Regions from separate parts of the Homo sapiens genome. Here all the other regions are linked to region 2. The links are contacts of gene promoters, found by promoter capture Hi-C in human tissues and cell types (Jung and others, 2019). All regions are on one chromosome and are shown on one strand. Each heading gives the region's core, a stretch centred on a gene start or on the middle of the fragment in contact. The rest is flanking DNA. Distances are from core to core; before and after follow the strand shown. Region 1 overlaps EXOC6B (exocyst complex component 6B). Region 2 holds the start of SPR (sepiapterin reductase). Region 3 overlaps SFXN5 (sideroflexin 5).

What was found. Contacts are between HindIII fragments. The study calls those that stand out against the background at their distance.
Region 1: a fragment that was not itself captured here is called in contact with the fragment with the promoter of SPR in region 2 in 1 of the 25 tissues and cell types used here (IMR-90 fibroblasts).
Region 3: a contact is called between a fragment that was not itself captured here and the fragment with the promoter of SPR in region 2, in 1 of the 25 tissues and cell types used here (hippocampus).

What each region holds. Positions count from the first base shown.
Region 1 is chr2:72,753,749-72,756,448 of GRCh38, reverse strand. The region is part of intron 1 of EXOC6B (exocyst complex component 6B); the gene reads left to right. Among named protein-coding and RNA genes, the nearest start is that of EXOC6B, 71 kb to the left of the region's middle. The HindIII fragment of the contact is 3,950 bases long and covers 1-2,700 here.
Region 2 is chr2:72,885,976-72,888,675 of GRCh38, reverse strand. It overlaps SPR (sepiapterin reductase), which reads right to left and starts at 1,268. Exons shown (of 3, transcript NM_003124.5): 1 at 940-1,268; 2 at 72-362. The coding sequence starts at 1,243. RefSeq lists silencers at 214-388, 1,027-1,416. The HindIII fragment of the contact is 16,003 bases long and covers 1-2,108 here.
Region 3 is chr2:73,057,839-73,060,538 of GRCh38, reverse strand. It overlaps SFXN5 (sideroflexin 5), which reads left to right. Exons shown (of 14, transcript NM_144579.3): 2 at 1,943-2,011. Among named protein-coding and RNA genes, the nearest start is that of SFXN5, 13 kb to the left of the region's middle. RefSeq lists an enhancer at 1,348-1,848. The HindIII fragment of the contact is 4,366 bases long and covers 1-2,700 here.

The DNA.
Region 1 (2,700 bases), core at 90-2,589, 130 kb after region 2:
TGTTCTTGAGCCATCACTCCAAACTCAGAAATATATATCACAACTTTTTTCAGAACCATGATTAGGTTATAAATCGACTTAGCTGTCCCACATGTTGTGTGGCTGGATTTCCCTACAGACATCTATGATAATCATTTAATAGAATGCTTAATCCAGGCCAAAATAAAGTAATGAAAAATTTTGAAATACCAGGACATTTAGCATTGTCCTTTGTTCAGCTCCCTATGACTCTGCATTACAGTGTCTAGGTTTGGCATGGGACTGATGTTTATCATTATGATACAGAGTTCTTGGCTACTTTTATGTTTTACCAAATATAAATCTTTAACAGACTCCACCTGACAACCCCCGCCCCAACACAGTTAAAAACGTCCCCCTTAAAAAAAGATTTTGCCAACAAAATGTTTCTCTCCTTTGAGAGTTAACTTTGTAATTTGGAGCATATAACCATGATGTTTGAGAGCTGTCTGTTTCCATTGTTGCAGCCTGATTGTCCATGGTTTAATCATCAGTAGTTAAGAAGTAAAGCCAAAAATGGCTCCAGGCTGCTCAGTACCATAAAAAATTTCCACCTGGAAGCAATTTTTTCTAAAAGCCCGTAGGGACTGCTGTCACCCTCCCCCTTCTGTTGGCAACAAGGGCCAGAAACATCAGTTCTCTTCAGAGCCAGGTCTTGTTGCAGTTTAATCATCTTCCTTCTCCTAGCTTCCAGAGGAGGTTAGAGGAGAGCTAGGGAAATAACAAATTATTGCCAGACACTACTCTCCTCCTACAATAGATTTCCTTTAGCCATCTAAATTTCTCCTTTCTTCCTCTGTTTCTTTCTTTTTCTGTTTAACATTTTAGCTGAAGTGCAAATTATTTGCACTGCTAGAACTTGAATTAACTTTTTGGTAAAAATATTTATTATTGAACTCTAGTGCTTCTCTTTGGGGTAAGATGAAATGTTGAAACATTTTTGGGCACTGCTTTGGCTCTTTGTCACTTTATAATGCTTTCTCTGTGGGATACAGCCATTGTTCCAGGTGTAAACTCTCAAGGAACTCATGGTCTTATAGGGGAGATAGACATGTAAATAAATCATTACTGTATAGAGTGTTCACCGTAGTACCCTTTCAAAAATATGAACAAATAAACATTTCAAAGCAAAAGGACATGAACTGTGCTTTCCACCAGTAAATATCATTAGTAGTGGTGCCCATTCATTTCTAGGCCCATTATCCTAATGTAACTTCTGGATAATACTAGGCATTTGTTCAAGAACTTTGAGGCAAAACAAGATGACAGTACTCCTGGTGAAATTCACCTCAAACCACATATGGCTTCATAGGTTCAAGGCCAGTTCAAATTTATACAGTGTCAAAGTGAGAGCCAGTTGGTGAATGATTATACCATGACTGTTAAGGAGTAATTCTTATCCTATATCCTTATCATACACTCCTTATCAAGGATAGGGCTAGGTGCTTCAATAGATTTTGTTTCATTAAAAAAAATAGATTTTTAAATATATTCCTTATCGAACTAGACTATGAGCAGGCACTGTGGCTCACACTTGTAATCTCACCAGTTTGGGGGGCCAAGGTGGGAGGATCGCTTGAGCCCAGAAGTTTGAGACCAGCCTGGGCAACATAGTGAGACCCCATCTCTGCAAAAAAAAATTTTAAAAAATTAGCTGCTTGTGTTGGTGCATGCCTGTAATCCCAGCTACTTAGGAGGCGGAGGCTAGAGGGTCCCTTAAGCCCAGAAGCTAGAGGCTGTAAGTGAGCCATGATTGTGCCACTGTGCTCCAGCCTGGGCAACAGAGTGAGATACTGTCTCTAAAAAAAAAAAAAGAAAAAAAAAAGCTATTAAAAAAATGAAATACATAGAACTAGACTAATACATGCTGCAAGAGACTGTTATTGTAGATTAAATTTGGCTGGGTGTGGTGGCTCACACCCTATAACGCCAGCACTTTGGGAGGCTGAGGTGGTAGGATTGCTCGAGGCTAGGAGTTTGACAGTACCCTGGGCAATGTAGCAAGACCTCATCTCTACCAAAAAGAAAAAAAAAGAAATTGGTGTCATTTGGGAAAAGATGCCTCATATCAGCAAGTAGGAGAAAAATGGTATTGAATTTGAATCTTTAAAGAATGGACTCATGATCTTGTTTGGTATAAATTCCTCCAGAGTATGCAAGCTTAAGCTCTTCGTGGCTGCTTTGGTTTTATGAACCAAAGCAGTTTCTTGTGTTCTACCTTGTTGGTAAGAAGAGCAGCTTCTGAGCTGGGCATGGTGACTCTCACCTGTAATCCCAGTATTTTGGGAGGCCGAGGTGGGAGGATTGCTTGAGCCCAGGAGTTTGAGACCATCCCAGGCAACATAGTGAGACCTTGTCTCTACAAAAAAATGAGCTAGGCATGGTGGTGCCTGCCTGTAGTCCCAGCTACTCAGGAGGCTGAGGCAGGAGGATCGATTGAGCCTGGGACACAGAGTGAGACCCTGTCTCAAAACAAAAACAAAAACAAATCCTAAAAACTAAAAAGGTAAGGAGCTTCTGTATCAGGTTATAGTAGTTGTATTAAGGAGAGACGTTTTAGGAAAGAGTTGAGTTTTGAGCTGAACCTTGAAAGATGAGTAGGAATTTGCCAGAGAAGTGATGGTAAGGACATTGCAGGCAGAGGGAATACATGCTACACTCAAGGAACTTCAAGTAGAGTTG
Region 2 (2,700 bases), core at 19-2,518:
GCCGCTTGCCCAGCCCCCAGAGGCGCACCAGTGGGTTCTGGAGGACAGGGACGGCAGGACTTCCCACCTACCTGGGGCATAGTTCAGCACCCTCACATTAGGTTCCTCCAGCGCCAGGACCTGGAACAGCATATCACGAGCAGCCTTTCCTGCACAGTACAGCGCCCAGCCTTTGAAAGGTTGCAGGGCACAGAGGGACGAGATGTTAACCACGGTTCTGTTGAGGCCAGGACTGTCCGGGAAGGCCTTCAGGACGCTGGAAGTCAGGCAGAGCATGGAGGTCAAGTTCAGTGCCCAGTAGTTGTTCACTTGAGTGGAGTCACTCAGGTCCACGAAGCCTTTGGACACATCCCCAAGAGAGCCTGAAAAACCAACCCTTAGGAGTAACTCAGTGCAGGCGGGGCTTTCTTCTTCCCCAGCCCTCCCAAGTTCCTCCAGATATCCTCTTCCCATGCAGACCTAGAGGAGGAAGCTGCCTAGCGCTTCTGAAGAGGCTTCTCTCTTCCCCAGCTCTGCGGAAAGACACAGCTGGGGAACCTAGCCATCCCAAGCTGCAGAATGAGAAGGCACCTGCCTTGCCGTGGGGCTGAAGGAAAGCTCTAGCGGTCCTTTGGAGAAGCAGAGAGTTTACTTGTTTGGAGACTCCAAGCCCTGACTCAGGCCTCCGCCAGAGGGCGCAGAGCAAGGGGCTCGGGAAAGTTCTACAGGCGCTTTGGAAAACCCGGCTGGCCAATTTTCCAGGAAGTGGGGGCAGACTGTTGTCCCGACGGCACCGAGTCTTCCTGTACACCTCGCCTCCACTTGCTACTCAAGCTGGAACAACTAGGGCTTTAGATTTCTAGGCGTCCTATCTGACCCCTAGGAGTAGCCCTTAAATTCCCCAGCGGTGGAGGAAGTGGGCGCTCACATGGGGAGTCCGCTCCAGCCCCGGGGTCTTACCCGCGTTGTTGATAAGCAGCAGTCGCTGCAGCCCCTTGGGCCGGGGGAGCTCGCGCAGGGCGCCGAGCAGCTGCTGCAAGCCGGCCTCGGCGCCCAGGTCGGCGGGCACCCGCACCACGCGCAGGCCAGACCGCTCGGCGCCCAGCTCGGCCTCCAGCTGGCGCAGTGCCTCGTCGTTGCGGGCGCTAAGGACAAGCACGGAGCCGGGCGACAGCAGCGAGGCCAGGAGCGGGGCCAGCGTCCGGCCGAAGCCGCGGGAGGCCCCGGTCAGCAAGCACACAGCACGCCCCAGCCCGCCCTCCATGCTCCTGTTCTCCGCCGGCGGCGCTGGCACCCGAGACCAGGCAGGAGGCGGTGCGGCCGCGGGGGGCGGGACCGCTACGGGTGTCGGCGGGGCCGCCCTGCCGGGGCGGGGCGGGAACCTCAGGCTTCGGGCCGCGAGCGCCCAGGGGTGCTGGTTCCCTTGGGATCTGGTTCCCTTGGTTGCTGGTGGCGGAAGTCAAACCGTGGCGGTAGCCCAGTCCGTGCCAAGTGGGACAACAGAGAGGGCCGGCAGGCGCGGCCCACACGGAAAGCCCTAGCCCGGTTCCCAGCGCTGCCGTGTTCTTCGCCCGCAAGCTCAGCCTCCGGCTGGGACGCATGCTCGAATTTCCTCCCAGTTCCAGCCCTAACTTTGCACTACTGACCTCTTCCAGGGCAGGCCCTGCACTGGGTGCTGGGCGTCCCTGGTCGTGGCCAGTGAACACCCTGAATGAAGCTTATGCCTGTTTAGGAATTGAAGTCTCTGCTTGTTTGGGAGCTCACCGCTCTCTGGATGACAGGAGCTTCCTCTGGGAGAACCACAGTGGCTCCAAATGATATTAAAACCTTTCCCTTTTACTAGGCCCTGAGCAGCTCCGTGATCCCACCAGTAACCCCTGCTTCTCTGAGATTTCTGACTCCTGTCCCTAAAAGTGTGTTCCCCAGGATTCTGCTCCTGCTCATGCTACAGTCTCCCTGGCAGCAATTCCATCCACTTTCAGCTTCAAGTTTGCGCAATCATCTGTCTGTACCTCCAGGCAGGTGCTTCAGAAAAATCCACATTTTTTTTTTTCTAGGAGAGGAGGAACGTGAGACAAGTTGGCATGCAGCTACATATATTAAAAAGGAATCTCTTCATGGTTTCCTTCTTAGTGGCCGAGTGGTATTCCATTGTGTATATACATATGTCCAAATATTGTGTGTCAGTTTTTAAAAAACGAATCTCTTTAGAGTTTAGCAAGGGCAGTAAGTAACCTCTGATAACTTAGCCCAATTCCCCACAGGGCTGATCCCTCCCCTGGGGCTAAACAGCAAAGTTACCGCCTTTCCACTATTATTGCCAACTCTAAGGAAGAAACAACTTGGAGGAAGGCTTTTTTCTTTTCTTTTTTCTTTTTTTTGACAGAGTCTCGCTCTGTGGCCCAAACTGAAGTGCAGAGGTGTGATCACAGTTTACTGCAGCCTTGAATTCTTGGGCTCAAGCAATCCTTCCACCTCAGGCTCCTGAGTAGCTAGGATTACAGGTGCGCACCACCACGCCTGGCTAATTGTTTTTTAAGCTTTTGGTATTTTAACGCTGATAAGACTCTGTATATGTGTATACCATTTGAAGTTGCCCTGCTTTTCACTTACCTATTCACACTGAAGATAAAGATCTCATTGGCCCAACAGCTTACTATTTAAAGAATTTTAATAGCTTCTCCCTGCTCTCCAGGCCTTAGAAGACAGGTTGATGAAAGC
Region 3 (2,700 bases), core at 175-2,674, 170 kb before region 2:
GTTACACAGTGCATCTAGTTGTCTCTTTAGTTTCTTTAATGTGGAACAGTCTCATTCCCACTCTTTCTTTGTCTTTATGACATTGACATATTTGATGAACAAAACCAATTAATTTATGGAATGTCTGTCAGTGTGGGTTTGTGTTGTTTTCTTGTGATTAGATTTATTTAGTCCCTTTGGAATATTATGTGAGTGATGCTGTGGACTTCTCGGGGTATCACATTTGGAAGAACACAGTGTCCCACCTGCCCTTCGTTGATCCTTTTAACATATCCCCATCATTTTTTGGGGGTAAGACTTCATTACTTCCTGGTGCAACAAAATGTACCAGTTTCATCTTGTACCCTCCCTACCCCAGCCTTTGAATCCGCTCCTTTCCTAAGGAACCCTGGTCTCTGTTAGTGGACCAGGATCTGGATGTCATTTGGTCTTTTTGCTTTTCACTTAGTATCTGTCTAGCTCTGTTTATCCCCTTGTTTATTGAGTTGGAATCACACTGCTTATATGCATTTCATAAAATTTTAAGCATTATTCCATGTCATAAATGTTTGAAAACATAGTTTTAAAGGCTGCATAGTATTCAGTCATATGAATGGACCATCATTTATTTAACCATCCACCTTTGTAAAGAATGCAGCAGTGAATATCCTTGGTATGTACACCTGACCAGATCTTTGAACATCTTGGATTGTTTCCTTAGACTACATTCTCAGAGGTGAAATTTTGCCAGGACAGCATTGTGAGCCTCCCTTATGTATGTCTTTAATGGGAAAATGGTCTGGGCTGTGTGGATTATAAGAGGTTAGAGAGGCAGCTGTTTCTGTTAGGAATGGACCAAAGCTTGATCTGGTTTGTGAGAGACAGCACCTGGGTAGGGGTGGCATTAGGGGTTAGAGGTTGCTTCATGCAGGGGTGCCATGGTGGGAGAGAAATGGAGGTGGGATGAGAACTGGTGTGTGGGGGGACTTTGAGGTGACCTGGAGCCTATTGCAGGGTCCTTATTGGGAAGGGAAAGGAACAGGAATTGGCTGCAGGGTCTGGTGTCCTACTAAATAAGGGGAGGGAATGTGGAGGCTTCTGTTTCCTCCACTGTGCAAAGGATGGTGCTTGGAGAGTTGTGGGGCTCCAGGGAGGAATTTGGGGCAGAGCCCGGAGTGTAGTGAGGCATGAACCCCAGCGATTGCAGCTTCCCCTTCATCCCCGAGCTTGGCACCCTCTGTCTTCCCCTTGAGCTCAGCTTTGCCCAGCTGGCTTAGTCCCCAGGGCAGAAGGCCCAGCAGCCGGGTTGCTTGGTTTCCTTTCATTGTGCTCCAATGCCTGTGGCTGCGCTTAGCATAAAGCCCTCCTTTTCCACGGCCCCTGCTCTGGGGCAAGGTTGGGGGAGCTGCCCCTTGTCCTGCACTTCAGCAGCTACAGGGCTGTGGGTGAAGGAGGGCCTGAGGATTGTGAGCTCAGTGCTTTTAGGCTTGAGCTGCCCTTGGGGATCCCCCCTGGAGGCAGAGCTGGACCTTGGGGAGGGACCCTGTGGCGGGTAGGCAGGATGCTTTGTCACTCAAGGTCCTGAGCAAGGCAGGGAGGCTGGGAGAGGGCTGGGGACCAGGCCTCACCTTCAGCCTACATGTCCAGGGATGCTTGGGAGCTTTTAATAGGCTCAGAATAGATCTCAGGGCACTGGGAGAGAGAGGGGAAAATGGAAGTCACCTGGAAGAGCAGATGGGCCTGTCCTTGAGTATCTCAGTGGTCTCTCTGAGTTGACTTTGGAAAACTCTCAGCCCCAGGAAAGCTGTCCTTAGATTTCTGAGGCCTCATTGGCATTTATCACCCACACGAGGAGTCCTGGGGACCGGGGGACCCCAATCATAAAGGGTGGGGCTCTCCAGTGTCTGGAGAAGGGTGTGCAGCAGCTGATCCATTCACTCTTCTCTCTCATCCTCTTCTTCAGACGTCCTTCTATGGCCGCTTCAGGCACTTCTTGGATATCATCGACCCTCGCACACTCTTTGTCACTGAGGTAAGTCATGGCTGTCACCTCAGTGGCCCTTGGGCCTTTGTACCTTGTCATTTCAGAATATGTGGGTCATTAAGGGAGGGTGAGGATGGGGGAGTGAAGAGAATAGGGGAGGTGAGAGGTGAGAGGAAGGTAACAAATTCTCTCTACCTGTAGCTGTCTGTTTATGTATCTGTGTGTCTGTCTGTATCTGAGTTGATACATTGTGCTGTATGCTTTTTACATTATATCATTTGGATCTCACAACAACCCTTTAAGATAGATATTATTGTTATTCTTTAAAACTTTCAAGAAATTATTATCAAGTACATAAGTTATTTGCTCATTAGAAAAGTTCAAACAGTACAAATATGTTTAAGTAGAAAAAAGTATCCTTTAATCGTCCTCCCTACTTAGTTCCCTCCTCTTATAGGTAACAGCTGTTAATGGCTTTTAACATCAGGTTATTAAGGTATAATTTACCTTTCTTATGTGTGCAGTTCTTTAAGTTTTGACAGCCATATTCAGTCGTGTGTCCACCATCACAGTTGTATTAGTCCGGTCTCATACTGCTATAAAGAAATTCCCGAGACTGGGTAATTAATAAAAAAAGTGGTTTAATTGTCTCACAGTTCCTCATGGCTGGGGAGGCCTTAGGAAATGATATGGTGGAAGGGGAAGCAGGCACCTTCTTCACAAGGTGGCAGGAGAGA